6 separate regions of the Homo sapiens genome follow, and all the other regions are linked to region 3. Evidence: promoter capture Hi-C in 16 types of primary human blood cells and fetal thymus (Javierre and others, 2016). All regions are on one chromosome and are shown on one strand. Each heading gives the region's core, a stretch centred on a gene start or on the middle of the fragment in contact. The rest is flanking DNA. Distances are from core to core; before and after follow the strand shown. Region 1 overlaps SLC4A5 (solute carrier family 4 member 5). Region 2 overlaps MOB1A (MOB kinase activator 1A). Region 3 holds the start of ACTG2 (actin gamma 2, smooth muscle). Region 4 overlaps MOB1A (MOB kinase activator 1A). Region 5 overlaps SLC4A5 (solute carrier family 4 member 5). Region 6 overlaps MTHFD2 (methylenetetrahydrofolate dehydrogenase (NADP+ dependent) 2, methenyltetrahydrofolate cyclohydrolase).

Evidence for each region. Contacts are between HindIII fragments. The CHiCAGO score rates a contact against its expected background, and 5 or more counts as called.
Region 1: a fragment that was not itself captured here is called in contact with the fragment with the promoter of ACTG2 in region 3 in 1 of 17 cell types (activated CD4 T cells); the score reaches 6.6 in activated CD4 T cells.
Region 2: a fragment that was not itself captured here is called in contact with the fragment with the promoter of ACTG2 in region 3 in 6 of 17 cell types (activated CD4 T cells, naive CD8 T cells, naive CD4 T cells and 3 more); the score reaches 11.7 in activated CD4 T cells.
Region 4: a contact is called between a fragment that was not itself captured here and the fragment with the promoter of ACTG2 in region 3, in 1 of 17 cell types (activated CD4 T cells). The highest score is 6.0, in activated CD4 T cells.
Region 5: a contact is called between a fragment that was not itself captured here and the fragment with the promoter of ACTG2 in region 3, in 1 of 17 cell types (activated CD4 T cells). The highest score is 5.3, in activated CD4 T cells.
Region 6: a fragment that was not itself captured here is called in contact with the fragment with the promoter of ACTG2 in region 3 in 1 of 17 cell types (activated CD4 T cells); the score reaches 5.8 in activated CD4 T cells.

The regions. Positions count from the first base shown.
Region 1 is chr2:74,233,021-74,238,045 of GRCh38, reverse strand. SLC4A5 (solute carrier family 4 member 5) reads left to right here. Exons shown (of 31, transcript NM_133478.3): 22 at 2,832-2,945; 23 at 4,483-4,644. Among named protein-coding and RNA genes, the nearest start is that of MTHFD2, 37 kb to the right of the region's middle. The HindIII fragment of the contact is 4,660 bases long and covers 516-5,025 here.
Region 2 is chr2:74,155,818-74,160,860 of GRCh38, reverse strand. It overlaps MOB1A (MOB kinase activator 1A), which reads left to right. Exons shown (of 6, transcript NM_018221.5): 5 at 1,607-1,770; 6 at 4,216-5,043. The coding sequence ends at 4,293. Among named protein-coding and RNA genes, the nearest start is that of BOLA3-DT, 10 kb to the right of the region's middle. The HindIII fragment of the contact is 1,879 bases long and covers 1,886-3,764 here.
Region 3 is chr2:73,891,188-73,896,382 of GRCh38, reverse strand. It overlaps ACTG2 (actin gamma 2, smooth muscle), which reads right to left and starts at 3,375. Exons shown (of 9, transcript NM_001615.4): 1 at 3,332-3,375. RefSeq lists an enhancer at 3,486-4,299. The HindIII fragment of the contact is 3,877 bases long and covers 1,654-5,195 here.
Region 4 is chr2:74,171,705-74,176,699 of GRCh38, reverse strand. It overlaps MOB1A (MOB kinase activator 1A), which reads left to right. Exons shown (of 6, transcript NM_018221.5): 2 at 3,948-4,114. Among named protein-coding and RNA genes, the nearest start is that of MOB1A, 4.7 kb to the left of the region's middle. RefSeq lists a silencer at 1-161. The HindIII fragment of the contact is 821 bases long and covers 1,659-2,479 here.
Region 5 is chr2:74,254,507-74,259,463 of GRCh38, reverse strand. It overlaps SLC4A5 (solute carrier family 4 member 5), which reads left to right. Exons shown (of 31, transcript NM_133478.3): 13 at 3,532-3,689; 14 at 4,758-4,845. Among named protein-coding and RNA genes, the nearest start is that of MTHFD2, 58 kb to the right of the region's middle. The HindIII fragment of the contact is 5,568 bases long and covers 1-4,226 here.
Region 6 is chr2:74,216,406-74,221,575 of GRCh38, reverse strand. MTHFD2 (methylenetetrahydrofolate dehydrogenase (NADP+ dependent) 2, methenyltetrahydrofolate cyclohydrolase) reads right to left here. Exons shown (of 8, transcript NM_006636.4): 8 at 4,011-5,170. SLC4A5 (solute carrier family 4 member 5) reads left to right here. Exons shown (of 31, transcript NM_133478.3): 30 at 75-142; 31 at 2,784-5,170. The coding sequence ends at 109. Among named protein-coding and RNA genes, the nearest start is that of MTHFD2, 20 kb to the right of the region's middle. RefSeq lists an enhancer at 120-414. The HindIII fragment of the contact is 7,791 bases long and covers 1-5,170 here.

The DNA.
Region 1 (5,025 bases), core at 1,596-4,095, 340 kb before region 3:
ACTGCAACCTCCGCCTCCCGGGTTCAAGTGATTCTCCTGCCTCAGCCTCCCAAATAGCTGGGACTACAGGCGCCTGCCACCACACCCGGCTAATTTTTGTAATTTTAGTTGAGACGGGGTTTCACCATGCTGGCCAGGCTGGTCTTGAACTCCTTACCTCAGGTGATCCCCCCACCTCAGCCTCCCAAAGTGCTGGGATTACAGGTGTGAGCCACCGCACCCAGCCCTAACTGCTGTTTTAAATTTTATTTTCTACCTGTTTGTGGCTGGAATAAAAGATTTATGAAAACAGCACTTGCATACATAAGCAGTAACTGTGCCGTGGGGTGGGGGGTACTCGGAAGAATTTAAGCAACTCTTTCCCACCGTAAACTCCATTAGCAGTCTCCTAAAGCCATCTTAACTAAGTATTACAGCTGCTACTGCTACTAATCATAATGATAAAATCTTTGAAATAAATAGTTGAATTTTTCCCAGATTTTCTAAAGACTAAATAAAAGGTGCTTTAGGAAGCTTCACAGTATATAAACTGAGTAAAAAAATAGTTTGCTTACAACACAAATGCACCATCAAGACAAGTTCTCTTCCTTCCTGCCCACTTCCAGTCCAGAGCACATCCCTCAATCTCCTCTTATGTAAAAATTCTCAAGCAGTCACTGTATCTGAGAGTATCTATCTGTTGCCTACAGGATGAAAAGTAATTCATGTGGCATGAAATTCTTGTGCCAACAACATTTTTTCCGTCACATTACTTAAAAATTGCTCAGTTGGGCCAGGCACAGTGGCTCACGCCTGTAATCCCAGCACTTTGGGAGGCCCAGGCAGGCGGATCACGAAGGCAGGAGATCGAGACCATCCTGGCTAACATGGTGAATCCCCGTCTCTACTAAAAATACAAAAAATTGGCCGGGCGTTGTGGTGGGCGCCTGTAGTCCCAGCTACTTGGGAGGCTGAGGCAGGAGAATGGCATGAACCCGGGAGGCAGAGCTTGCCGTGAGCAAAGATTGCGCCACTGCACTCCAGCCTGGGCGACAGAGAGAGACTCTGTCTCAAAAAAAAAAAAAAAAATTGCTCAGTTGCCTTCTGGAATTTCCGGTTGCAGAGAGGAATGAGGCCACACCATTTTATACTCATCAGATTGGTAGACAGATGAAGGTCTTGGGACACCAGATGTTGGAGATGGAAAGCAGTAGGTGGGAATGTAGACAGATACATCCAATTTGGAGAGCAACTGACACTCTCTGATTAGGTTGGACCATATGAAGTTGCCCATATTTGACTGTTTCAACCTACAAAAAAAGTCAAGTTCATGTGGTTTAACTTAATAAGCATTCATATGGTTTTGATGTATATGCTAGGAATATTATAGAAAAGGAAGTATAAACCCAGCACACTACTTGGTTCTGCTGTGACTAATATTTATATGATCATGATAATATAAAGCTGTTACTAATTTTCAACTTTTGGAATTGACTTACAGATAAAACACACAAGCCATGTGTTTACGGAACAAGAAATGATTGTTCTCAGCTTCGACAATGGAAAGGTCAAAGTGGAGGTGTGACAGGAAGGAAGAGGGGAGGAGGAGAGAGGTGGTAGGAGGATAGAGGCAGTGGTCCTCACCTTGCAAGATGGAGAATGAGAGATATTAGCCAAAGCTAATGGAAGGAGATGTTTAATTATTATCACTTGAAAGTACAAAGGAAACCCATAGGAGCTTAAAATTAACTATCAAAGATTAGGAATAAGGAAAGGACAGGAGGCACAGTGTAAGTAAAGGTAAATTCTTATCAATAGATAATCCCTTAAATTAGTAAATGAAAATATTAAAGTATATGCATATTAGTTAATGACATGGAGGGAACCTCTGGAACAAGTAAAATCAAGCAGACATAGTGGATAGATCTGGAAGGCGGGGCTGGATTGAGAAAAGGGGAGGTGGGAGACTTTGCTTTTCCTCATAAGTATTTTCCACTATGTGGGTTTTTAACCAATTACATATGTTATGTTAATAACAAATTTAAAGAGAAAAGGGGGATGCAGGGAATGAAGTCAATGTACTGTCACCTGCCCCTGCCCTTCAAATTGCCTTCTTTGAAAAGATATTAAAAAGGCCACAGGGTAGACGTTGGGGGACCATCTGTCCTGAGACTTCTGGACATAGAGTTGGTTTGGAGGGGAGGTCGGAGGACATTGATTCAGAATGGGCAGGAAGGTCAGGTTCAGAACTTGGTCTAGGAAGGGCCTCCAGGTTCAGAACCTGGCCTAGGAAGGGCCTCTTGAGAAACAGCGGAACAAGAGACTCTTGGTGGACAAAAGGTCTGAGTGTAGCCAATGATCCCCAGTGGAATTGGGGAGCCTCCCTCCTAGCCCAGGTGGGGTACAACAACCTGTCACAGGCTTGTAGGAACTAAGGTTTGCTTCAGAGTCCAGCCCTTGCCCTCATCATACCTGCTGGGTGCCCCAGTTCAGACTGTCATACCAGAACACATCTTCAGCAGTGGCTGCCATGGCCATATGGATCATAACAGATCCCACATTGACCACCATATGCCAAGCACTCTAAATGTGTCACAGTTCACTTACACCTTTGAGGGAGATACTACCATCATCTCCATTTTACAGAGAAGGAAATTGAGTCTTGGAGAGATGACACGCTTCCCCAAGCTCACACAGTTAGCAAGGAGCAGAGCCTGGATTTGAGCCTAGTTCTGCTGCCTTCAGAGCCCAGACTGTAATAGTTCACCTCTTTGCTGCCGGAGGACTGGGGCTGCCTGGAGCTGGGTGGGTGCTTTACTCACTTCTTTTACTTGCTCATCTCCTGTCTGCAGGTCCGGGCCCTGGTGGCTGACTTTTCCATTGTTTTCTCCATCCTGATGTTCTGTGGAATCGATGCCTGTTTTGGCCTAGAAACTCCCAAGCTGCATGTGCCCAGTGTCATCAAGGTTTGCCCCTTTCCCTCGCTCTGGGCATCCAGTCTGCCTGCCTACCAGCTGCAGATTCTTTCCCCTCTGTGCTGATCAAACTCTCTTCTCCTCTTGGCCAAGAGACCATTTTAGTTCTCTGTGTGCCACCTTTCCTGAACACAGGCTCCCAGGAGCCAGTCCTTTGAGGTAGGGCGGGGAGGGGTAACATATTCACCAGGAAATCCTGATCTATAGTCACGAGGTGAGGAAGGCACTGGAATTCACCCTCCAACCCAGCAGAAGCCTCTTGATTCCTATTTGAGTGTCTCCAGTTCCCTGACCTCTAGCAATCTATAAGCTGGGCCAAATGGGATCCATTGAAACTGATCCCTTAGAACAGTGATTCTCAAAGTGTGGTCCTCAGACCAATATCATGGCATCACAGTCACAGGGAACTCGTTGGAAATGCAATTTCTCGGCCCCACCTGTGGAATCAGAAAAGCTGGGGGGTGGGACCAGCAATCTGCATTTTAACAAGCCCTTCAGGTGACTTGGAGTATGCTCAAGTTTGAGAACCACTGCTTAGAAATTACCCACTAGTTAGAACTGGTGACATATGCTTGTAGCTAAACCCAGCCCTACTCCCTCATAAGAGCACCAACCGGCCAGGTGCGGTGGCTCACGCCTATAATCCCAGAACTTTGGGAGGCCGAGGTGGGCGGATCATGAGGTGAGGAGATTGAGACCATCTTGGGTAACGGTGAAACCCCATCTCTACTACAGATACTAAAAAATTAGCCGGGCGTGGTGGCGGGCGCTTGTAGTCCCAGCTACTCGGGAGGCTGAGGCAGGAGAATGGCGTGAATCCGGGAGGCAGAGCTTGCAGTGAGCGGAGATCACGCCACTGCACTGCAGCCTGGGTAACATAACAAGACTCTGTCTCAAAAACAAAAAAAAAAAGAAAGAAAGAAAGAAAAAAAAAAGAGCACCAACGATCTCACCAGAGTAGGGAGTCCAGATTCTAGAACTTACCCTCCCTGTCTTTAAGGTTTTTTTTGTTGTTGTTTGTTTGTTTGTTTTTTGAGACAAAGTCTTTTTATATATTCTCCTCATTCTGAACATGCAGGACTGAACTGATGTTCAGCATTTTACAGACAATTCTATAATGCTCCCAGACAGGTGACTCAGGAGAGGCAGAAGCAGCTGGCCCTGGGCCCACCCATTTCTTTATTCTTTTCTGCTGGGCCTCATTCCTGCTGTTTGTTATTTGCAGCAGGTGACTGTGCTCTCTCTCCTGGCTGCCCTCTGACCTTCACCTCCATGTTTCCTGACAAACCCCAGGGCTGTTGCAGCAAATTACCTTCTTAGTTTTACAGACACTGTCTGCATGCATGCTCCTTCCCATGTCTGAATTTAGTCTAAAGTTGCAGCTACCTAAGGTGTTTAAGGGAAAAGATTGCACTTGAAAAGTACCCAAAGTCAGGGAAAGTTGAGGAGGTGGGACAGCAGGCCAGGCGACAAGTGCCCTGGGACAAGGGAGAGAGGAAAGGGCCCCTCTCTGTTTGCTCCCACTCAGCCAACGCGGCCTGACCGAGGCTGGTTCGTGGCCCCCTTTGGGAAGAACCCGTGGTGGGTATACCCAGCAAGCATCCTGCCCGCCCTGCTGGTGACCATCCTGATCTTCATGGACCAGCAGATCACTGCCGTCATTGTCAACCGGAAGGAGAACAAACTGAAGGTAAGGCCGGTACTAGGAGCAGAGGCATAACCTCTTTCTTCCCACAAAGTCAGAAAGAGCGAAGGAAGGACATGATGCTTCTTTCAGTACTTTGGGCCAGGAAAATATGAGGACAGAGACTAGAGTTCCCACTTGGTGTGTTGAGGGGGAAATGTGACCTCCAGATGTGGGTAAGGCCACCAGGGCTGGAGTGACTTTCTGAGGACCAGGACCAAACTAGGCTGGGCCACTGGGCACAGGCTCTCTGTCTTTCCCAAAGTGACCTCGAGTTCTTATGAGAATCAGCAGATCCTGACAGGGGCTCAGCCTAGAACACTGAGGCAGAGGAACTTCCTTAGCCTTCCTGGTCTCTGCAACTCCCCACCCAGCCTGTGAGCCTGA
Region 2 (5,043 bases), core at 1,576-4,075, 270 kb before region 3:
TCTCGAACTCCTGACCTGTCTGTCCCTGTTTTCTAATGGACTTTGATATTGTCAGCCAAAATTCTCAGGAATGTAACCAGTTGGATCCCCATCTCCACTGCTTGGAAGGATACCAAACTCTACCCCCGTTGTTTTCTAAAAAGAGATTTCTTTTTTTTTTTGAGACGGAGTCTCGCTCTGTCACCCAGGCTGGAGTGCAGTGGCGCGATCTCGGCTCACTGCAACCTCCACCTCCCGGGTTCAAGCAATTCTCTGCCTCAGCCTCCCGAGTAGCTGGGATTACAGTTGCCTGCCACCACCCCTGGCTAATTTTTGTATTTTTAGTAGAGATGGGGTTTCACCATGTTGGCCAAGCTGGTCTCTTTGGCCAGGCTGGTCTTGACCTCCTGACCTCGTGATCTGCCCCCCTCGGCCTCCCAAAGTGCTGGGATTACAGGCGTGAGCCACTGTGCCCGGCTGCCTTTTTATTTTGCTTAGGAGAGTTTCCAGTCCTCATTGAGAGAGTGCGTATGTATGTAATTTCTTCTTTTTTTTCCTAAGGGATGAGGTTTTACCTTGTTGCTCAGGCTTATCTTGAACTCAGGCTTATGAGCTCAGGCAATCTGTCCACTACGGCCTCTCAACGTGCTGGATTACAGGCACGAGCCACCACACGGAGCCAGTGTAATTTCTTTAGAGTTACAAATTACAAAGTAAAAATATTTATGATCAAAATACTTACTCTTGTTGCATTTAATTTCAGAAAGAAACTCTCTAATATTAAAGAACTAAATCCCAGTACTTTGGGAAGCCAAGGCAGGCAGATCACTTGAGGCCAGGAATTCGAGACCAGGCTGGCCAACATGGCAAAAACCCATCTGTACTAAAAATACAAAAATCAGCCAGGTGTAGTAGTGCACGCCTGTAGTCCCAGCTACTTTGGAGGCTGAGGTGGGCAGATTGCTTAAGCCTGGGAGGTGGAGGTAACAATGAACCATGATCATGCTACTGAACTCCAGCCTGGGTGACAGAGTGAGGCTCAGTCTCCGGGGTGGGGGGGGGGACAAAAAACAAAAAACTAAAACTACAGGATTTTTGAACTTTGATTTAGCAGCATCTTACATAATTTGATACCTGTGCCTAAGGCAGTCAGAAAAAAGTGTGGTACTTTGTGAGGATTGGGGTTTGGGTTTTCATTTCCTTGGCTTTAAAAAATATATACAGAGGTAGGTTTGTGTGTATTTATGAATGTGTGTGTTTATATGTTGCAGGTGCTCATGGCAGTGTGTAAACTTTCTGCTGTTAGGCTGGGCATGCCTGTAATCCTAGCACTTTAAGAGGTTGAGGCGGGCAGATTGCTTGAGCTCAGGAGTTCAAGACCAGCCTGGGCAACATGGCAAAACCCCATCTCTACAAAAAATACAAAAAATTAGCTGGGCATGGTGGCGTGTAGTGCAGGTTATTTGGGGGGCCAAGGTGGGAGGATCAGTTGAGCCCAGGAGGTCGAGGCTGCAGTGAGCTGAGATTGCACCACTGCCTGAGTGACAAAGTGAGACCCTGTCACAAATAAACAACTTTCTACTGTTAGATAACCAAATAATTGTTTCATATGTGTATTTAATTGCAGGTGTCCCATTTCCCAAAAACTTTATGTCTGTGGCAAAGACTATTCTAAAGCGTCTGTTCAGGGTTTATGCCCATATTTATCACCAGCACTTTGATTCTGTGATGCAGCTGCAAGAGGAGGCCCACCTCAACACCTCCTTTAAGCACTTTATTTTCTTTGTTCAGGTAAGTTGATCCATGTTGATTTCTGTGTCCTGTGACTTGGACTTATTTGGATTGGGAACTTCAACAAAGAGCTGTGTGTCTTAGTTATAGATGTAGAGCCAATTACAGGCAAGCTTCTCTTTTCTGTTTTGTTCTCTTTTCCACATTATTTATTTTATTGATGTGTGCAGCAGTATAAAAAGGTATCACCCCCATTTGGGCCTTCTGCCTCTGGCCACCCTAGGTCTGTGGTTAGGATTATCCATTCAGGGTTGTGGCCTGTTGCTTTGTGGACCCTTAGTCAGAATTGGAACTTTTTTTTTTTTTTTTTTTGAGACAGGGTCTCACTCTGTGGCCCAGGCTAGAGTGCAATGGCGTGATCTTGGCTCACTGCAACCTCCGCCTCCTGGGTTCAAGTGATTCTCCTGCCTCGGCCTCCCGAATAGCTGTGATTACAGGTGCCCACCACCACCCCCAACTAATTTTTGTATTTTTAGTAGAGACGGGGTTTCCCATGTTGGCCAGGCTGGTCTCGAACTCCTGATCCACCCACCTCGGCCTCCCAAAGTGCTGGAATTACAGGCCTGAGCCACAGCACCCGGCCAGAATTGGAACTTTAAAAAATCAAAATAATTCACATTGTTTGAAAAAGATATCAAAGAATTGGTATGCCTTTAGCCTAACTTTAGAGATACTTATATTTTGCATATTGAATTACATATACATGTCTGTCTAGATATTTTATGATGAAAAAACCTGGTAGCTTTATAGTAGATACTGTGTATTATAGTTTTGTGTACTGTACCATGCTCTTCCTGATCTTCCTTCTCAGATTGTTGCATAAAAGGTCTACTGGCCCTTTATCAAAAATTCAGTTTGTAGTTTTCAGGTAGTTTCTTTTTTTTTTTTCCCCCCTCTTTTTTTTTTTTTTGGAGACAGAGTCTTGCTCTGTCGCCCAGACTGGAGTGCAGTGGCACGATCTCGGCTAACTGCAACCTTTGCCTCCTGGGTTCAAGCAGTTCTCCTGCCTCAGCCTCCTCAGTAGCTGGGATTATAGGCACCTGCCACCACGCCCGGCTAATTTTTATGTTTACTAGAAATGGGGTTTCACCATGTTGGCTAGGCTGATCTCGAACTCCTGACCTCAAATGATCCACCCACCTTGTCCTCCCAAAATGCTGGGATTACAGGCATGAGCCACCATGCCCGGCCTTTTTCGGGTAATTTTAATGTAAATTTAAATATATATACAGTTTTGATTTTAATGTTTAACACAATGAGGATCATACTGATACCTAGAGTTGGTTCTTTAATAAGTCTCCCATTGTAAAAATATGGGAAAAAACAAACTCCCTTTATCCTACTATACTCTCACCACACAGAACGCTTCTGTGACCAAACATGGGGACTGTCCCTCACACACCAAGCAAGTGATCATTTCTACAGTGGACACCAGATGAATGTCCTATAATTTGATTCAATTTTGATAATGTCTATCTGGAGGTAGCATCAGATCCTACAAGTTTGAGAGCTCAGTCCCACAAGACTGCCCCCCATTTGGGATATCAATCAAAAGTAATACATTGTCACCTATACCTCTGACTATAAACCAGGGTTCCCACAACCCCCTCCTTGGGTTTGATTAGTTTGCTAGAGCCGCTTATAGAACTCAGGGAAATACTTATCTCTACCTGTTTATTATGAAAGATGTTAACAAAAGATACAGATGAACAGCCAGATGGAAGAGATGTGTAGGGCCAAAGGAGAAGGGGCTTCCATGCTCTCTCCAGGCATGCCATGCTCCAGGAACCTCCACGTGTTCAGCTATCTGGAAGCTCTCCTGAGCCCTGTTTTTTGTGTTTTTATGGAGGCTTCATTACTTGCCCATGATTGATTAAATAATTGGCCATTGATGATCAACTCAACCTTCAGCCAGCCCTTTCCCCTCCCCAGAGGCTGTGATCTGGGAAGGGGAGAGGGCTGGCTGAAGGTTGACCAGTTCCCATCCTGAAGCTTTATAGGAGCCTCCAGCCACCAGTCATCTCATTAGCATACAAGATACTCTTAGCACTCTGGTGATTCCAACAAGGGTTTTAGGAGCTGTGTGTAAAGAAAAAGGAAGACCAAATACTTATATCACAATATCATACCTATATTTTTAAAAAGAGAGGGCTGGACGTGGTGGCTTACCCCTGTAATCCTAGCACTTTGGGATTTGGGATGCCAAGGTGGGCAGATCACTTGAGGCCAAAGTTCAGTACCAGCCTTGGCAACATAGACCACATCTGTACAAAAAAGAAAAAAAAAAGAAAAAGAATAAATGCCTACTTTAAAATGTTCACAGAGGTTATTTCATCATTCTTTTGGACTTCAGAAAACTAGAGTTGGGAATCCCTTCTCCAAAAGACATTTACAGAGTTTCAGTTTTAGATCCATTTTTAATTGTTATTTTTCTTCTCTTTTTAGGAGTTTAATCTGATTGATAGGCGTGAGCTGGCACCTCTTCAAGAATTAATAGAGAAACTTGGATCAAAAGACAGATAAATGTTTCTTCTAGAACACAGTTACCCCCTTGCTTCATCTATTGCTAGAACTATCTCATTGCTATCTGTTATAGACTAGTGATACAAACTTTAAGAAAACAGGATAAAAAGATACCCATTGCCTGTGTCTACTGATAAAATTATCCCAAAGGTAGGTTGGTGTGATAGTTTCCGAGTAAGACCTTAAGGACACAGCCAAATCTTAAGTACTGTGTGACCACTCTTGTTGTTATCACATAGTCATACTTGGTTGTAATATGTGATGGTTAACCTGTAGCTTATAAATTTACTTATTATTCTTTTACTCATTTACTCAGTCATTTCTTTACAAGAAAATGATTGAATCTGTTTTAGGTGACAGCACAATGGACATTAAGAATTTCCATCAATAATTTATGAATAAGTTTCCAGAACAAATTTCCTAATAACACAATCAGATTGGTTTTATTCTTTTATTTTACGAATAAAAAATGTATTTTTCAGTATCCTTGAGATTTAGAACATCTGTGTCACTTCAGATAACATTTTAGTTTCAAGTTTGTATGGTAGTGTTTTTATAGATAAGATACGTCTATTTTTTCAAAATTCATGATTGCAGTTTAAATCATCATATGACGTGTGGGTGGGAGCAACCAAAGTTATTTTTACAGGGACTTTATTTTTTGATCTTTATTTGAGATTGTTTTCATATCTATCTAAATTATTAGGAGTGTGTGTATCAGAAGTAATTTTTTAATGTCTTCTAAGGATG
Region 3 (5,195 bases), core at 2,126-4,625:
TCTCAGAATGGTTTTTCTTTTTTTTTTTTTTTTTTGAGATACTGGGCCTCACTCTGTCACCTAGGCATTGAGTCCAGTGGCACCATCAAGCTCACTGCAGGCTTGAACTCCTGAGCTCAAGGATCCTTTCTCCTCATCCTAGGAGCTGGGATGGCAGGCATGTGGCTGGCATGGCCACTACATTCTGCTAATTTCAAAAAAAAATTTTTTTTGTTGAAACAGGGTCTTGCTATGTTGCCCAGGCTGGTCTCAAACTCCTGGCCTCCAGTTGTCCTACTGCCTTGGCATCCCAAAGTGTTGGGATTACAGGTGCAAGCACTGCACCCGGCCCTACATTTTCAAACGGTTGAGAAAAAAGCAAAAGAAGAAAAATATTTCATGACCCATGGAAATTATATGACATTCAAATCTCAGAGTCTAATAAAGTCTTACTGAAACACAGCCACATCCATTCACTTACATATTATCTATGGCTGCTTTTGTTACAATGGTAGAATTGAGTACTTGTGACAGAGAACTTCAGGCTCCGAAAGCCTAAAATATTTACTATCCGGGCTTCGTCAATCCCTGTCGTCAAGGGCTGTAAAGAATAATGATTCTTATTAATCTCTCTTACTCTTCTCCATCAAAACTTGCTCCCAGGATGAAGCCTGTCATATTGAAAGGAATTGAATGATCCATTTCACACATCAATGACTATTGAAAGTTGAATTTATGTCAGTTCTCAAAGACATTTTCATTTTGACAGAAAGTGTTAGGCCTAAACGGAGGGCCTCTGCGATGATGAGATTTCAAACAATAGTTGGCGACAGGTTTTTGGGTGAGAGCTTCAAGTGACATGTAAGCAGCTGCGTCTCTGCCTTTTATTATTTGCCTACACGTATATACAAACCATCAGAAACCCTGGCAGAGAGAAATTGTCTATGAAAAACACTGCCACGATGGAAAATTCTAACAGCACCTCTAATTAACTTCAGGATATCTTCACTAGGTTCTATATATACATGAGTTCAATTAAAAACAACTCTGCTGAGTAATATTTTGGATCCTCCACAATCTGTCGTGGGTGCCTTATCTTCTGGCTCTTACCCGGACTTCCATTCACTCCCCTGGCTCTGCTCCTGTCCAGACCCCTCTCTTGAGCTCTAGGCCTGCAGAGCCTGCCGTGCATCTCCCCCACCAAAACCCCCCTGGCACCCCAACTCCACACCTCCAGGACTGCTCTCCTCATCAGCAGCCTCTGCCCGGAGCTGCCCTCACAGACTCACACCACCCACCCTGAGCCCATGCCCAATGCCCTGGTGCCGCCCTCTTCCCTCCCAACCTATCACCAGCCCTTCTTACTTCTACCTGCACGGCACCCATGCCACCAGCTCAGGACCACCGCATGCTGCAGTAGCGCTCTTGCCCTGTTCCAGTCCACTCTCCTCACAGCTGCCAAAGCAGCCCCTTCAACAGATACCCTCCAGATTAAAACCCTTCCATGGCTCCCCATAGCCTGATCCTTTAGAGTCTAAAGCCCTTGTAATCCAGCCCTGCGGACCCCTCTGAATTTAGTTTTACCTGATTCCTGCCTTGCTATCTAAATTCAGTGGAATTGAGCCACTTGAGTCCCAAAGACCATGCTTCCTCTTTACCAGGAAGGACCAAGCTTGGTCCTTACTTCAGGACCAAGCTCAGGCACCTCTTCCTCCAGGAAGTCTTCCCTGATAACTCCTGGGTTGAGTGATGGGCTCCTCCTGGCCTTTACCCCTTTCGTGTACTTATTTGCTCCATGGTTCTCATCTGTTTATCTGTCTCTTCCAGTAACTGCAGAAGCCTCTCCACTGTCCCTAAGGAGCAGAGACAGTGCCTGGCCCATAATAAGTGCTCAATAAATGTTGGCAGAATGAACAAGGGGAAAGAGGAAAGATATCTCGCCCCAAGGTCATGATGTCACACGGCCCATCCCCTTTTCTCAGGCCTGGCATGTAGGATCTTACTGTTCATTGCAGTTTCTCCAGCACCCATCCCTCTCTGTCACAGGAAGCTCTTCCTCTTTTCAGCCCAAGGGTTAGTATCAGAGTCCAAACCCACATTCAAGTAATCAAAGTGAGCACTTAGAGCCTCCCTGTACAAAGTGTGGTCCCAGACCAGCAGCTTCAGTGTCGCCTGGGAGCTTGTTAGGAATTCCAAGTATCAGGCCATATCTCGGCCTACTGGAATCAGAATCTGGGGTGGGGCATGGGGCAATCTGTGTTTTAACAAGCACTCCAGGTGATTCTTAAAGTTTGAGAACTCAGGGCCGGGCCCTGACAGCCTTGAGCTGAGTGCTGTATATACGCATTCTCTCGTTTAATCCTCACACCATCGCCAAGTAGATATTATTATTCTTGCCCCCATTTTACAGGTGAGGAAGCTGAGGTCGCTCAGTAACTTGGTTAGCCTGACAGTCTGCCTTCAAGGCCTGCACTGCCACACCCAGCCTGCCTCACCTGTGAAGAGATGCTAGTGAATTCTGATGCCAAACATAGAAGTGGCCCCTTCATCTCATCTTCCTCTTAATTCTTTGTGCATGTGTTGTGTGTGTGTTGGGTGGGTTGGGGGGAGTAATGACATCTGCAAATGGGTCACAGTTGGGTGTGAGTCTTTTGGATGAGTGGCTGTACGTCTCTAGGCCTCAATGTCCTCATCAGAGGAGAATGAACTAGATGGGTCCCAAGTTCCTTCTACCCTGAAACCTCACGATGCCACAGGGCAAGTGGAATTTTCTCCATCCCCCAATGATCCTAGAGCCTTCAAGGACTGCAGAAACCCTCCATTCTCCTCAGCCAAGCACAGATCAGAGGACAGAGAGACCCACAGGGGACCTGAAGAAAATACCCTCCCATTCCCAGCACAGACATTTCATGGACTAAACAGCTCACAGACACCAGGACCACTGTTGGCTTTGACTCAAGTATTCTGAAAAGCTGCTTTTCTGCAAAGTATATGATCCCCTAAAACAGCCTCCCAGACATTCTAACCCAAGACAAAGGACATCAGGGTGTGGATCTGCACTGGCCCTGGGGAGCAGGGCTAGTAGAGACTGCAGGCATTATATCCCGCCAGTCCCCATTCTGAGGCAGGGAGCACGGTTCCAAGCTGCCCCTGCCCCAGGATGTCCCATGGCCAGATACGCCTTTTCTCAGCAGGCTGCAGTATGCTTGCAGGTGCCGCTGCCCACCAAGGGCTCTGGTGTGTGATCTGGGCCAGCGTCACAGAAGCCAGGCCAATCTGGAGGCACCTCCCGCACCCAGGAGGCCAGGCAGCCCCGGAAAGGAAGAGGTGGCAAAAGCCGTACAGTACTTACCGAGGGTATGAGAGGTTCTTCTCCCAGTGACTGAGGGCTGGTGTGTCTTTGGCATGAATACCAGAGCAATATAAAACCCCAGAGGCGGATCTTCTTTAAACAAAGTCCCTAAAAAGGCCAGCTGACGGTGTGTTAGCAATATTACCATATAAGGTGGTTTTTTCAATAAATCGCCTTGGGGGTAGGGAAGGGGGGTGGGTAGAGTGAGTTATCATTTGAAAAATGTATGCAAAAGGACTCAGTGGCAACAGCCCCGGTGCTGGTAGATTTGTTCCTTTTATGCTGCACTTGCATAAACAAAACTCACACCAGGCCTTATAAGCTGCCCAGAGTGAGACCAGATGCAGCTGTGCTCCTGGAGTGAGAACCATACCAAGAATGGCAGCGGGCCTCCTCCGTCCACACCTCCCTCCTCAGGCCCTGCTGCATGCGGCCCCTGGGTCTGCCTGGGACGCCCAGGCACTGTCCCCAAAATGGGTGCAATCATGCCTTGTCTGGCACGAGCCTGGGACCAATGAAAGCTGAAGAGAAATGCCTTCCGTACCCAGGAAAGAAATCCTGCGTGCCCTACTCACCTGCTGCACCTTGACACAAGCTCCTAACCCTTGGGCTGAGTTCTCTGAGGGTCTCAGGACACCTTAGGCTTCATTCTCTCTTGGCTCCTTCCTGGTTTTCCTTTAAATATCTCTAAATATCTGCAGACTGAGGGACCTGCTTCAGGGTTGAGGCACACCTAACAAGACTCTTGGCCTGTAGGATTTTCCACAGTCCTGTGATTCTTGAGCTGCTTCTTTTTCTTTTTTGAGATAGAGTCTCGCCCTATCCCCCAGGCTGGAGTGCATTGGTGCAATCTCGGCTCACTGCAACCTCCGCCTCCCAGGTTCAAACAATTCTCCTGCCTTAGCCTCCTGAGTAGCTGAGATTACAGGCACCTGCCACCATGCCCAGCTAATTTTTGTATTTTTAGTAGAGACAGGGTTTCACCATGTTGGCCAGGCTGGTCTCGAGCTCCTGACCTCGTGATCCACCTGCCTTGGCCTACAGGTGTGAGCCACTACGCCTGGACTTCTTTTTGTTTGTTTGTTTTGTTTTTAATTAGACAGGGTCTCGATCTTGAACTCCTGGATTCAAGCAATCCCTCCACCTTGGTCTCCCAAAGTGCTGGGATTACAGGTGTGAGCCACCATGGCTGGCTGATGATTGCTCTTCTTTGTGTAATTCATGTACTATCCCTAGGTAGCTGGTTCATTTCCCACATTATCAGCTACCAGCTCTGCAGTATTACTTTCAACTCCACATTCTCATGGTCCCCCTCCCTCACCCTGATCCAGACTAAAATGATCAATTGCCTATTGGACATCCCAATCCAGATGACTCTCCAGCTCTTCAAACTCATCCTGTCTAAAACTGAACCCTTCTTCCCTACCCTCAAAGCTGCTGTGCCTCCTGGGTTGCCAACTTCCAAGTCCACCCCTCGGCCCTTCAAGCTAGAAGTCAGTCAGTCTAGAACCCTGTGTCTCCCTCATGCTCCCACAACCACCTGGGCACCACAGCCTGGTGCTCCCCCGACCAGAAATGCCCCTCAGCTCTGTGTCCTCCCTCAATCCCTGCTGGCCTGCGCTGCCTCAGGCTCCAGTCCTATCTGGCCTGGAGTGGGGCGCAGCTTCCTGACTGGCCTTCCTGACTCTGCTTCGTCTTCAACACAGAGGTTCCCAAAGCATGGGGACCACCAGAGTGCAGCAGCAGCATGATATGGGAATGTGCTCACAATGCAGATTCTCAGGTGTCACCTAGCCCTATTGAAACAGAAACTCAGTGAATAGGCCTCAGCCATCTGTGTTTCTTAAACTTTCCCCACCCGGTG
Region 4 (4,995 bases), core at 820-3,319, 280 kb before region 3:
CTCCGCCTCCCGGGTTCACGCCATTCTCCTGCCTCAGTCTCCCAAGTAGCTGGGACTACAGGCGCCTGCCACCATGCCTGGCTAATATTTTGTGTTTTTAGTAGAGACGGGGTTTCACCGTGTTAGCCAAGATGGTCTCAATATCCTGACCTAGTGATCCGCCCACCTCGGCCTCCCAAAGTGCAGGGATTACACGCGTGAGCCACTGCGCCCGGCCTTGCCTGTTTTTAAATTGGGCTGTCTTTTTGAGTTGTAGGACTTCTTTATACATTCTAGATACAAGTCTTTATCACATCTATGATTTGCAAATATTTTCTTCCTTGTTCAATATAGTTTTTTTTATCATGTTAAAAACTTTTCAGATATGATTTTTAGTGTTTTCATCATTCTTTTTTACCTCCTTTTTTTTTTTTTTTTTTTTTTTGAGACAGGGTCTCACTCTGTTGCCTAGGCTGGAGTGCAGTGGTGCGATCTCAGCTCACTGCAACCTCTGCATCCCGGGTTCAAGCAATTCTCCTGCCTCAGCCTCCCAAGTAGCTGGGATTACAGGCACTTGCCACCACGCCCGGCTAGTTTGTGTGTGTGTGTGTGTGTGTGTGTGTGTGTGTGTGTGTGTAGTAGAGGCGGGGTTTCACTATGTTGGTCAGGGTGGTCTCAAACTCCTGACCTCAAGTGATCCACCCGCCTTGCCCTCCCAGAGTGCTGGGATTACAGGTGTGAGCCACTGCACCCGGCTCTTTTTTACTTCTTAATCAGTCTTATTTAAATTCCAAATTACTCAGGTAAAGTAAAAGTCCATAGTTCTATTCCATTCCTCTTCCTAGAAGTAATCACCAGTTTTGATGAGTTTAGTTTTTGATATTTTCTATGTATTTACAAAATGGGCTCCTGCTGTACGTTTGGTTGTGTATTATGTTTAACCATGTATTAGATCTTTCCCTGTGAATACGTGTACTCTGTCTGGTTTTCTTAACTTCTATACAATATTCCATGATATGGATGTACCATACTTTAATTCAATCCTCTACTGATAAACTTGAGGATTGCTTCTAGGTTTCTCCCTATTAAAAACAATCTTGGAAAAAAATTCTTATCCATATCTAGAGGAGATATTTAGAAGTAGAATGGATGGCTTGAGGAGCTTTTCAGTATTAATAGATACTACCATATTGCCCTCCCAAAATGTTACACTTTATACTTTCACCAGTAGTGTATTAAAATACTAGTTTCTCTGTACCCTAGTCCAGTGGTCCCTAACCTTTTTGGCACCAGGGACCAGTTTTGTGGAAGACAATTTTTCCACAGATCTGGTTGGGGAGATGGTTTCTGGATGATTCAAATGCATTACATTGATTGTGCACTTTATTTCTATTATGACATTGGAATATATAATGAAATAATTCTACCACTCATCATAATGTATAATCAGTGGGAGCTCTGAGCAACTAGACAATCCCATCTGGGGGTAATGGGAGAGAGTGACAGATCATCAGGCTTTAGATTCTCATAAGGCACATGCAATTTAGATCCCTTGCATGCACAGTTCACAGTAGTGTTCACGCTCCTGTGAGAACCTAATGCCTCTGCTGATATGACAAGAGGTGGAGCTCAGGTGGTAATGCCAGCAATGGGGAGCAGCTGTAAATACAGATGAAGCTTTGCTGCTTGCTCACTGCTCATCTCCTTCTGTGGGCTCCAGTCTGTGTCCTTGGGGTTGGGGGCCCCTACCCTAGTCCACATTTAATGTAATCATTTAAACTTTTGACATTCAGATTAGGGAAAAAATAAATCTTACTTTAATTGAACAGTTTTTCTCATGCTCATTGATTGTCATACTTCTGAATTGCCTATTCATCTCCTTAGCCTATTTTTCTAAAGGATTCCTTATATTCTTAACGAGTTACAGAAGCCCTCTATTATCCAGTTCATCCTTTGTAATATATGTTACAAGTACTTTTATTTGGTTACTTGTCTTTTTGCTCTGTTATGAAAGTTTTAATTGATACTATTTGAAATCTGTCCACTTTTTCTTTGAGGTTTCTGAGTTTTGTGCAGGAAGACTTTATGGATGGTGTGAGATAGGAATAAAAACATTTTTTCCTCAATAACGAGTTGTGCCTGTCTCATTTATTTTCCCTATTATAAACTTAAAGATGTTAGTGTTTCTTTTACTGTGGTTTGCTTTCAAGGCGTCTCAAATATTTTGATATAGAATACTGGATTTTTGAACTAAACCTCCCTGCGCCATTTTCTTTTTATCTTCCCCACCCCCCATTCCGCCTTACTATGTTGTCCTGGCTGGTCTCAAACTCCTGGGCTCAAGAAATCCTCCTGCCTTGGTCTCTCAAATGGCTGGGATTAGAGGTGTGAGCGACTGCACTTGGCTCCACCATTTTCTTTTTTCTTTTCTTTTCTTTTTTTTTTTTTTTTGAGACGGAGTCTCACTCTGTTGCCAAGCTGGAGTGCAGTGGTGCAAGCTTGGCTCACTGCAACCTCCGCCTCCTGGGTTCAAGCCATTCTCCTGCCTCAGCTTCCCGAGTAGCTGGGACTACAGGCGTGTGCCACCACGCCCAGCTAATTTTTGTACTTGTTTTTTAGTGGAGACGGGGTTTCACCATGTTGGGCAGGATAGTCTCAATCTCTTGACCTCGTGATCCACTGCCTCGGCCTCCCAAAGTGCTGGGATTACAGGTGTGAGCCACCGCACCTAGCCATGGCCCCATCATTTTCTTTTTTTTTTTTTTTTTTTTTGAGACGGAGTTTCGCTCTGTCGCCCAGGCTGGAGTGCAGTGGTGCGATCTCGACTCACTGCAAGCTCCGCCTCCCGGGTTCACCCCATTCTCCTGCCTCAGCCTCCCGTGTAGCTGGGACTACAGGCGCCCTCCACCACGCCCGGCTAATTTTTGTATTTTTAGTAGAGACGGGGTTTCACCGTGTTAGCCAGGATGGTCTCGATCTCCTGACCTCGTGATCCACCCGTCTCGGCCTCCCAAAGTGCTGGGATTACAGGCGTGAGCCACCGCGCCCGGCATGGCCCCATCATTTTCTATAGCACTTTGGGAGGCTGAGGCGGGTGTATCACTTGAGGTCAGGAGTTCGACACCAGCCTGGCAAACATGGCAAAATCCCATCTCTACTAAAAAAAAAAAAAATTAGCTGGGTGTGGTGGTGCATGCCTATAATCCCAGCTACTCGAGAGGCTGAGGCAGGAGAATCGCTTGAACCCAGGAGGTGGAGATTGCAGTGAGCCGAGATTGTGCCACTACATTCCAGCCTGGGTGACAGAGTAAGACTACATCTCAAAAAAAAAAAAAAAAAAAAAACCGAAATTGAGGCCAAAAGAAGGTTCAGTTTCTCAAGAAGACACAGTTAGTGTCAGATCAAGAACTAAAATCCAGGATGTTTCTCTGTACCAGACTTCTTCAGAGGGCATAGTAAAATTGCCTTATTTGTGGAATTGTGCTGCTAATCTTGCTTTTACAGGCAGGGGAAAAAAAGCATTCTTGTATTGTGATCATCATCTTCCTATCTTGGCATTTTTCAGAGAGTGTTTTTGTTTTTTTTGAGACTGAGTCTTGCTCTGTCACCTGGGCTGGAGTGCAGTGATGCGATTTCAGCTTACTGCAACCTCTGCCTCCCAGGTTCAAGCCATTCTTCTGCCTCAGCCTCCCAAGTAGCTGGGACTACAGGTGTGCGCCATCATGCTTGGCTAATTTTTGTATTTTTAGTAGACGTGTGGTTTCACCATGTTGGTCAGGCTGGTCTTGAACTCCTGACCTCAGGTGATCCCAAAGTGCTGGGATTACAGGCATGAGCCACCATGCCTGGCCCAGAGAGTATTTTTTATTTTATTTTTACAGGCTACTTTATATACCTAAAATTATGTTGTTCTACCTGTTCTACTTCCAGTCTTAAAAATTCATATACTTGCACTTTTAATCTTACAGCAGCAGCCGCTCTTCTAAAACATTCAAACCAAAGAAGAATATCCCTGAAGGATCTCATCAGTATGAACTCTTAAAACATGCAGAAGCAACTCTAGGAAGTGGGAATCTGAGACAAGCTGTTATGTTGCCTGAGGGAGAGGATCTCAATGAATGGATTGCTGTGAACAGTAAGTTTTAAAATGTAACTTTGCTGTTTTCTAGAAAGGTTTTGCTAAAATCTCTTTGTTAATGAATTTTCTTTTACAGTTAGAACTGTTTTAATATAACAAATTATCTGTAAAGAAACATTAAGTACAAATACATCCAAAGCTATGTTGCTCTTTTCAGAGTACTAGGTGGTAGTTTGTGAGGTTGAGTAGAGGGAGCTGAGGAGAAATGATGAGTGCTTTTGGGCAATTTCTAAGAAGAATAGTATGAAAAGCTGAGTAAGGTCAGATAAAAGATTGATAAATGAAAAGATTATGCCTGTTGTGGTCTGTGACTTTGTAGCAAATCCATCTACAGTTTTACTTCCACTCCCAGCAGTACTCATCAGCCTGCATATCCAGAAAAGTCAATTGCAGTTCATATGGACAGTTGATTGTTGTGACTTAGAGTGGCAGAGGGAATTGAGAGATTGGGAGAAAATGGAGGGATCTGAGCTGAAAGTCACTTTAAGTTCAAGAGAACAAGTGCATGACATGGGACAATATGCTAAGGCTAGAGATTTGAATGTGAGAGTCTCTCATTTCTGAGATGATATCATTTCTGGGTAATAAAGTTTAAATTAGAGATTTCAGATGTTCCAGGAATAAAAAGTTTAAATAAAAAGTTTAAAACTTTTTATTTATTTATTTATTTATTTATTTTTGAGATGGAGTCTTGCTCTGTTGCCCAGACTGGAGTGCAATGGCTCAATCTTGCTTCACTGCAACCTCCACCTCCCGGGTTCAAGCCATTCTCCTGTCTCAGTCTCCTGAGTAGCTGGGATTACAGGCACACGCCACCACACCCAGCTAATTTTTTACATTTTAGTAGAGACAAGGTTTCACCATGTTGCCCAGGCTGG
Region 5 (4,957 bases), core at 193-2,692, 370 kb before region 3:
ATCCCCAGTGGGGACTCTGGGCTGCCTGGGGGACTTTGCCAAGGCCAGTAGTCGGGGAATGACGGAGTCCCAGGTGCTGGCTCTGTGTCAGGCCCTGGGGGTGTGGGACAGAGAACATGATTAAATGAGGCGCCAGCTGTCCTTGAGCTTGGGATTTGTTGGAGAGAGAAGACCAGCACACATGGCTTCATCTATCCTGTGATCCACAAGCACCTTTAAAGATGGGATAGGGACTGGGGCTGGCAGAGAGACAGAAAAGAATCTCCCTGTGGCGAGAACAGTGGTAGTTAATTAGACTGTCCAATAGTGCATCTTCTTCCTGTGGTCTCCCATGAACTGGGCTGAAACCCTCGTGATGAGATCAGAATTCTGCAAACAAATTGGGTCCAGTTCTAAGGCCCACAGCCCCAGAATCCTGTGACTGTGCCCCTTGGGGAAGCCCAGAGGAGGCCCCCTTAATTCCAACTCCTGCATACCTCAAGGACAGGAGGCCCCATGGTCCCCTTGTCTATCTCCCCAGGAGTAGGAAGAAAGATGACAAAGGAAACCTGAGACTTGGCGAGGAGCCTTCAGGAGCTTGGGTGACCTCCAGGCCTTCCAGCCACCCCTAAGTTTGGTGGAAGGCAAAAACAAAGTCAGCCCCTCATGTCAGTGTCCCGGGCACAAATAAATTAATAACAACAGTAACAAAATCAATCAATATTTAAGCTCCACACCACATGCACTACACTGTGCCAGGCATTTTCTGTGAATCACAAAGGCACTATTTTCATTCCCATTTTACTCATGAGAGAACACTGAGGCTTACAGCAGTTAAATAACACACCAAAGTCTATACAGCTGAAAGACAGAACTTTGATTTGACCTAGGCAGTCTAACTCCAGAGCCCTTAACTTGGAAGTAATTTAGGAACTAGTCAGTATTCTGGAACATTATTTGGAGAGGAAAACCACTTTTACTCATGCATACAGACAGTGCAACTGTGATAAGAAAGCATTACCTAGTAAAAGTTTTTTATAACCTGTTTTAATGAATGTGTGAGTGGTAATAATAACACTAGCTGTCCCTTTCACCAGACAGTGCTTTCTTGATTTGGGGATTGGAACCCATCACCTAGCGCCAGCATCTGGTTCTCCTTGCTGATACTTGATGCTGCTTCTCGGTATTTGCAGCATCAGTGGTCTCTGCTATTGGGTGCTCTTCAGGTGCAAGCCCAGAGGCATTTGCTCTGCAGGCTCTTTCTTCATCATTGATTTGTGCAAAGCTAAACTCCATGCCTGCCCTCAGCTGGCAGATTCCCAGTGAACAGAGAGTAGATTCAGACAGCATCGTTGTGCTGCAGTGACTCTGCAGTGCAGAGCCAGATTGGAGTCCCCAAGGGTTCAGGAAGTGGAGTCAGCAGGGCCCTGGTTATACAAGCCCACATCCAGGCTTTGGGCAAGCCAGGGTTGGTTGGAACACTAGCATGCTCCCATTTCTGGGATGCCACAACCCTGGCCTTCTTACCAAACATGTCACAACGTGTAAGGAAGGACCAACTCCCTGGTTAAATTTCTCTTATCTTCTGTATTACAAGTGGGTTGGTTGGATGGCCAGGTGTGGTGGCACACACCTGTAATTCCAGCAGTTTGGGAGGCTGAGGCTGATGGATTGAGGCCAGGAGTTTGAGACCAGCCTGGCCAACATGGAGAAACCCTATCTCGATCAAAAATACAAAAATTAGCCGGGCGTGGTGGCACATGCCTGTAGTCCCAGGCATGTGCCAGACAGGCACGAGAACTGCTTGAACCCAGGAGGAGGAGGTTGCAGTGAGCCAAGATGGTGCCACTGCACTCCAGCCTTTACGACAGAGTGAGACTCTTGTCTCAAAACAAATCAAAACAACAACAAAAACAAGTGGGTTTGTTGGGACACCCTGAAGCATTGCTGCTTCCGAAGCCTCTTTCTCCAGGGTGCTCCTGCCCAGCCCGTATCTCCTCCCCTTCCCTGGACCCCCTCCCTGCCTGATGCTCGGAGACGGTGGCTGCCCTGTTACACCCAGCCCTCCACCCTGAAGAACGCTGCTTAGTAATCAGCTGACCATGCCTGAGACAAAGGGACTTTTTGAGTCTTGGGGACTCCGGTGTTCCTGTCAATTCCTGCTTTTTCTCACTATGTTAGGATCCTTGGGGCTGCTGATGGTTGCCCAGGTGGTTGTGGAGGGTTATTTTTTTTTTGTCTGATTGGATTTAAACGATTATAAGGGTAGTGCCATTGCTCACGAGCCCCTCCTCGTGCTGGTAGGCCACCCAGCCCAGTGTGTATGATGCCCCCACATGAGTCGAATTGGGAAACAGCTGTGGGGACAAAATGGCAGGACCTGTTGACCATATCCATGCCCATAGCTGACCCCTCCACAGGGACAGGAAGAGGCACAAGGAAGCTGTGTCTTCACTGAGGCTGTGAGAAACAGGCCTGTGCCCGCGGGAAAGACTGCAGTAGAAGGGGGATTGGTAGGAAAATTGTGATGTTCACAGGCGCTCTCTTCAGAGCTGTCCTCTACCCCCAGGCGCTTTCCCACTGTGTCAGCGACTGTGGACTGCACCCAGTCCTGCCGCTACCCCAACTGCTCCCCTCCATCTTCCGACAAAATTATCTCTGTCTCTTGTCTGTCCATGCCCTTGCTGCCCAGAGGGAAAGCAATCTGAAAAAGGAATTCATTCTAAGACGTTAAGGACTAAGAAGAGCTTGAAAGTAACCATCCCTGGGGTATCTTCAGCATAAAAGAGGACTCAGGAAGTTATAAACGCAGAGAGTGGGAATACATTTGGGTGGAGGGCTTGTCTCCAGTACCTCTCACATCAGACCCCACTGGCTCTGCCTGTGTGACCTTCCTCCCATGAAGTGACACTAGCCAGAGAGACTGGAGAGAGGCCACCTTGATAGTCTCTGCTGGAAAATTCCAGAAGTGATGAATTTCCTTGGGAGGTCCCCTGGGGGTAATGTGGGGGCATGGAAGTCTCCCACAGACTTGGAGACTGGTCCAGGAATTCCTGTGAGCCAGGAAGCTGGTGGCAAAGGGAAAATAAGGCCTGTTTACTCTGACCATCAGAACAGGCCTCCTCCTCCCCACAGCTACCAAAAGTGAAGGTGGAGAGGGGAGGTCTGGGTGGCTGAGGTAGAAGCACTGAGACTCCCATCTGCTCAGCCTGAAGGAGGCCATCCAGGCCTGATGTCCGGCAACCCCGGGGCTCTTCTCTGACCCCTCAACCCACATCTCAGTGGAGCCGTTTTCATCCGTCAAGGAATGTCTTAGTCAAGGAAAGTCGTTGCCAGTTCCTTCCCATCTACAAGGCTTAATGGTGCCTGGGGTTAACCTACATTCAGTCTCCCCATCTGCAGAATCGGAGGAGTACTTATTTATTCTTTCAGTCTCTTGGCAACATTGGGAGAATTTTTTTCAAGTTAGGCCTCAAAGCAGTCTGAAGGGGAGTGAGGGAGTGAGAGCAGGTGGGAGTCTCCTTGGCTATCTCGTTTCCCCTCCCTGTCCAGCGGAAAAACAAATTCATGAAGAAGATCCCCAAGGACTCAGAAGCGTCCAACGTGCTCGTGGGCGAGGTGGACTTCCTAGACCAGCCATTCATCGCGTTCGTGCGCCTCATCCAGTCGGCCATGCTGGGAGGAGTGACCGAGGTGCCTGTCCCCACCAGGTGAGAGCCATTGAAACCTGTCCCCACGCCACTCTCAGGTAGCCAGTCAGCAGTGCAGTCAGCAAGCAGTGCTGTTGACTGTTAGTGTTCTCAAAGGCACCTCTAAACGTGGAGGCTGCTGGGAAGGGAAATCTTCTGACTAGGGAAGAGTTTTAGAGTTTATTAAAAATAATAACAAAAGAGGCCAGGTGCGGTGGCTCACGCCTGTAATCCCAGCACTTTGGGATGCCAAGGTGGGCAGATCATGAGGTCAGGAGTTCGAGACCAGCCTGGCCAACAAGGTGAAACCCCGTCTCTACTAAAAATACAAAAAAATTAGCCAGGTGTGGTGGTACGCGCCTGTAATCCCAGCTCCTCGGGAGGCTGAGGCAGGAGAATCACTTGAACCCGGGAGGCAGAGGTTGCAGTGAGCCGAGATCATGCTATTGCACCCCAGCCTGGGCAACAGAGCAAGACTGCGTCTCAGAAAAAAAATAAAAATAATAAATAATAAAAGAGAAGGAGGCAACAACTAGGAGAGAAGTTGTCAGGTAAGCTTGGGCAGCAAGACAAAGGTGAGGATGCTCAAGGGGGAGCCTCATGGGAGGGGAAGAGGAAATGTTCCTCCAAAGCAAACATAGGGTTCCATGGAGGGAAGTAAAAAAGTTAAGAATGGGCCCAGCGCAGTGGCTCATTCCTCTAATCCCAGCACTCTGGGAGGCCAAGGCGGGTGAATTGCTCGAGCCCAGGAGTTGGAGACCAGCCTGGGCAGCATGGTGAAACCCTGTATCTACTGAAAATACAAAAAATTAGCCGGGCTTGGTGGTACACGCCTGTAGTCCCAGCTACTCAGGAGGCTGAGGTGGGAGGATCACTTGAGCCTAGGAGGTGGAGGTTGCAGTGAGCCAAGATTGCGCCACTGCACTCCATGCAGCCTGGGTGATGGAGCAAGACCCTGTCTCAAAAAAAAAAAAAAAATGCATACTGTTCAGGGCCAGAGAATTCTCTTCACTTGCTTCTGTTTTTCCTTCTCACTTTCATGCTCCTCTTCCTTAATCTTCTCTGTCTCCTCCTCCATCTTCTTTGCAGATTTCTGTTTATACTACTGGGACCTTCTGGGAGAGCAAAATCCTACAATGAAATTGGCCGTGCCATTGCAACCCTCATGGTAGATGATGTAAGTGGTAACCAGAAGCTTGTACTCCTGAATTTTACAGCTCCTGCACCAAGCACTGCACCTTCATTCATTAACTTATCCAGCCAGCACATTTGAGCACCTACTGTGTACC
Region 6 (5,170 bases), core at 2,061-4,560, 330 kb before region 3:
AATGGTGGGGGAAGCCCGGAGAAATATGGTGCTCAAACCTGCTCCACATCTGACATTTTTCATTTTCCTGCCAGGAAAAAGATCTTCCAGTTGGAGTTACTCACTCTGATTCTTCCTTCAGTGACACAGAACTTGACCGAAGGTAAACACTGTTAGGTAGACTCCTTGCGTATTAGGTAAGAGACTAGGAAATGGCCGGGAAGGTGGAGGGTCTAGGATTTCCCAAGCTAGCTGTCCTCTCAGTAGAAGGCCCTTGCTGGCCCCCAACTGGGAGTCAAAGGCTGACAAACCTGACTCATCATTCAGGGCCAAGAAACAAGTATGTCTTCTTACTGACTTAACAACATGGTTACAACACACAAAGGTATTCAACTTTAGTAAAGGAAATTCTTATAAAAGATTAGGTAGAACAAAAATTGAAAGTAAACGTTGTGGCCCAGCACGGTGCCTCACACCTGTAATCCCAGCACTTTCGGAGGCCAAGGCGGGTGGATCACGAGGTCAGGAGATCGAGACCATCCTGGCTAACATGGTGAAACCCCGTCTCTACTAAAAAAATACAAAAAAATTAGCTGGGCATGGTGGTGGGGGCCTGTAGTCCCAGCTACTAGGGAGGCTGAGGCAGGGGAATGGCATGAACCCAGGAGGCAGAGCTTGCAGTAAGCCGAGATCGCGCCACTGCACTCCAGCCTGGGCAACAGAGTGAGACTCCATCTCAAAAAAAAAAAAAAAAAGAAAGGAAATATTGACAGAAAACAGAAGCCAGGCGCGGTGGCTCACGCCTGTAGTCCCAGCACTTTGGGAGGCTGAGGCGGGCAGATCACAAGGTCAGGAGATGGAGACCATCCTGGCTAACATGGTGAAACCCTGTCTCTACTAAAAATACAAAAAATTAGCCGGGCATGGTGGTGGGCGCCTGTAGTCCCAGCTACTCGGGAGGCTGAGGCAGGAGAATGGCGTGAACCTGGGAGGCGGAGCTTGCAGTGAGCCGAGATCACGCCACTGCACTCCAGCCTGGGCAACAGAGCAAGACTCCATCTCAAAAAAAGAAAAAAAAAGAAAACAGAAAAACTAGGCATGGCTTAAGTGTAATATCACTGAAAGCCAGGATAAATGAACGCTAAGGATCGAAACCCTGGGGTACTCTGTAGAATGAATTAACAGCAGGGTTAATTAGCAAAGGTCAGAAAGGGTATGGAGGAAAGCCAACATCAGAGATCAACATCAAAGCTAACATCAGAGATCAACTGGAGATGGGAACTGTTAAGAATAGGTTCAAGGCCAGTTGCCAGGAGCCCCCATGCCAACAATGTGATTGTTCTTCATGAGAAGCCACCCGTGAAAAAGGTGAGACTCCCTGATGATGACATAGTGGGGGCAAACACAGAAAAGATGAATTTAGAGGCAAGAAAGGCTTTACTTCATTGTTACTTGGGAAGATGCCAGGGGCAGTCCCACTCCTACCTTGTGCCCTAGAATGGACAGGGATCAAACAGTAATTACAGCACAGGCTATCCCAAGTCTAGAAGATCAATCTCCAGGCACAGAGGGCACTCATCCAAGAGATTTTTGGGGAAACGGGGCAGGGGATCTTCTGAATTATAAGGCAAAGCTGCTATCCCAATGCCAGGGTGAAACGACACACTTTTCCCCAGTTCAACCCTCCCTAAGCAGCAGTCCCAAAGATGCTCTAGCCCAAAGTGTCACCTGTCCCAGTTAATCTCCACCTTCCTTCTCATCCCACTTCCCCAGTCAGGCTCCTATATATGTGATGCCATTGATCTTTATACATTAGTATACACCGGTATTATGAGAAAAGCAGTCTATCTTATTTTCATTTATAAAATAATCTACATGAAATTGACTGACTACTCCCAATTTCAGGCAGTAGAGAGAAAATTTGGACCAGGTTAGGGGTTTCCAAAACCCTGTTAAATTACACAAGGCCCTAAGACAGGGTCAGAAATGAAGAAACTTTGGTAACTGGAGATGGTATCTCCCAACCTCATTGGTGTTTTACTGAATTTATGAAAACAGATGGAGGCAAAGATCACTAAATAGCAAGATTCTGTTTCAGTGAAAGGCTCTGCAACATGATCTGGTTTAACAAAGACTAAGCATCAATGATCTACCAGGTGCGATGCTTAATCCCTGAGGATGTGGAAAGAAAGGCATGCAAACAAAGACAGAGCACCCTGTGCAAGAATATCGGAGTACACAGGGAGGGAGTAGCCTCGTTTTGAGAATCTAAGAAAGGGAAACTGGAATCTGCCAGACATAGAGCGGGGCAGAGAAAAGAAAAGGCATTTCAGGCAGTGGACACAGGCCCGAAGTACCATTTGAAAACACACACAAACACACACACACACACACACACACACACACACACACACACACACCTCCAAAGAGCAAAGAACACTGCAATGGATGGGGCAAACTAAGCAGGCAGGACTACAAACACAGAAGACTGTGTTTGTGTTTGTGAGAAGACAAGACACTCCTGTCTTCTCACACTAAGGAGCTTAGATTCTTTGAACCCAATGAGGAATCACCAAATTTGTGATTTCAAAAGTTCACCTTGGCAGCAATGTGAAGATAGGTTTACAGGGTGAGACCAGATGCGTGACTATGGCTGAAGGCCAAGCCAATAGGAAACTGCTCATTCTGGCATGTGCTGAGAGTTCAGAAGCAAAGATGGAAGTATTTGCATTAGAGCCCTGCTCTAGGGGATGGGTTCAAAACACCAAGAACTACGTAATCCTTCTTTCCTACTTCTCGTTCAGCATCACCTTGCACTTCAAAATATCCTGTCCAGCTTCACCTGCTTTCAGCTACTCACGGAACCCAGTGTTCATGGTGCCACAGGTGAAGATAGAGATGGAGTCAGACTATGACTTCACAGACATGGATAAATACCGAAGAGAAACTGACAGTGAGACCACCCTCTAGGATGAAGCAGCTTCTCCCAGATGGGAGATGGAGAGCCTGGCTTAGTCTTCACTGGGAGGGTCTTAACTTCTCTGTGCCTGTTTCCTTCTTTATCAAACAGAGGGAGTCCGTCTGCCTATAGAAAACTGGAGATCTATTGATGAAAAGTATTGCTTAGATGCAAAGCTCTCCCCTTTGTAGTAATTAAAATACCTAAAGCTAAATATTATATTTTATTTTAAAATGCAGTTCAGCATAGAAATTCTAACATTTCTTTGGAAATAAAAAAATGCTTGTTTCCCCAAACCATAGCTAAGATAAAGGGGCAATAGTCAATTCATATTTAAAACAAATATCAATTTAAAATTGTTTAAAGGTTAGATTTAAATATAGATGTTCTCAAACAAACTTGTAATATACTTTTATGTCACTAGACCATCTTTGGAATATTTGGCAATTCTGCATATTAAGAAATGCTGAAAAGGTCCTATCTTTTCTCCCTGTCACATCCAATTTCCTAAGGGTTATATGAAAAGTTTGAACCAGCCGGGCACAGTGGCACACGCCTGTAATCCTAGCACTTTGGGAGGCCGAGGCAGGTGAATTGCCTGAGCTCAGGAGTTCGAGACCAGCCTAGGCAACACGGTGAAACCCCGTCTCTACTAAACTACAAAAAATTAGCCGGGTGTGGTGGCATGCACCTGTAGTCCCAGCTATTCGGGAGGCTGAGGCAGGAGAATCGCTTGAACCCAGGAGGCAGAAGTTGCAGTGAGCTGAGATGGCACCACTGCACTCCAGCCTAGGCAACAGAGTGAGACTCCGTATCCAAACAAAAAAAAAGTTTGAACCATCTGCATTATGGGCCTTGCTCCAGAAGTGTGACTGGGGCTTTCCCAGATTGAAAAGCCAGTTCCAAAACTCTGTTAATGAAAGAACCAATGCATCTGAGTGGATAAATGTTTCTAAAATAAAATAGTTCTTGTTAAAGTGAAATTTGAAACCACATGTTAAATCAAAATGATCCTTTAAATTAGTATCACTGGTTTTTCATACCTGGAATCACATTTCATGATACATTTGGGTGGGTCCTCCCTGCAAATTTTCAATGTTTATTCCCAAAGTCAAACTCCCATTCATGTGAACAATACAGGTTAGACAGAGGTAAGGTCACATTTTACATTACAACTTTGCAATATTAATCAACCTAGTACTTTAAAGGAATGATTGAAAACTATTTGGGAAGATAAAAACCAGTTTCAATGAAGCAAACCTATTCCTCATGAAACTTAAGATCAGTCATTTTATCTTCAATCCACATTTAATGAACACCAACCATGTTGATTTAATGCCTACTATGACCCTGACAGCCACAGTGCATCTGACACTTACTTTCTCCAAAACAACTATGATTTAAACCTTGAGTAAATCACTTGAACCTTGAGGTTAGAGTTACTATATTTGCTCAAGATGACAAATGCAGGTGCTTTCTTTTTTAAAGAAAAATGACACTAGATCATTAACACCTTGAGTATAGGACAGGTAATTGCCTCTGTAATTCCCAGCGTCTAGTGTAGTGCCTGGTCCATAGAAAGCTCTCAATAAGTGTTTGATTACATTTAATCTCAGAGCTCCCTTCCAAGGGATACTGCCAAGAGGTAAAGCTCCAAACCTCTACTCTTACTGAGAGCAGAATTTCTTAGAATTTCCAGAACCATCTCCTATGCTTAAGTATAAATTCTTGTCAGACACAGTGGCTCACACCTGTAATCCCGCTACTTGGGAGGCAGAGGTGGGGGGAATCAGCAGAGGTCAGGAGGTCAAGACCAGCCTGGGCAACATAGTGAGACCCATCTCTAAACAAATGTTTAAAAATTAGCTAGGCATGCTGGCACACACCTGTAGTCCCAGCCATTTCAGAGGCTGATGCAGGAGGATCGTTTAAGTCCAGGAGTTCAAGGCTGCAGTGAGCTATAATCATGCCACTGCACTCCAGCCAGGGAGACAGCTGGAATCCATGTCTTATAAACAATAATAATTAATTTTTAAAAAAAGTATTTATCATCCACACCAATCCTGGGGAAGCTAACAATCCACCCTTAACACATTTCAGTTTTAAAACCTGGCTGATCTGGAATAGAACTTTGTCCAAATTAAATTGTAGAAATGCTATGGATTCAAGAGTAAACCTGCTTGATTAATCAAACAAGCTGGAAAACTACTGTTAATTTCTTTGTTGTAAATT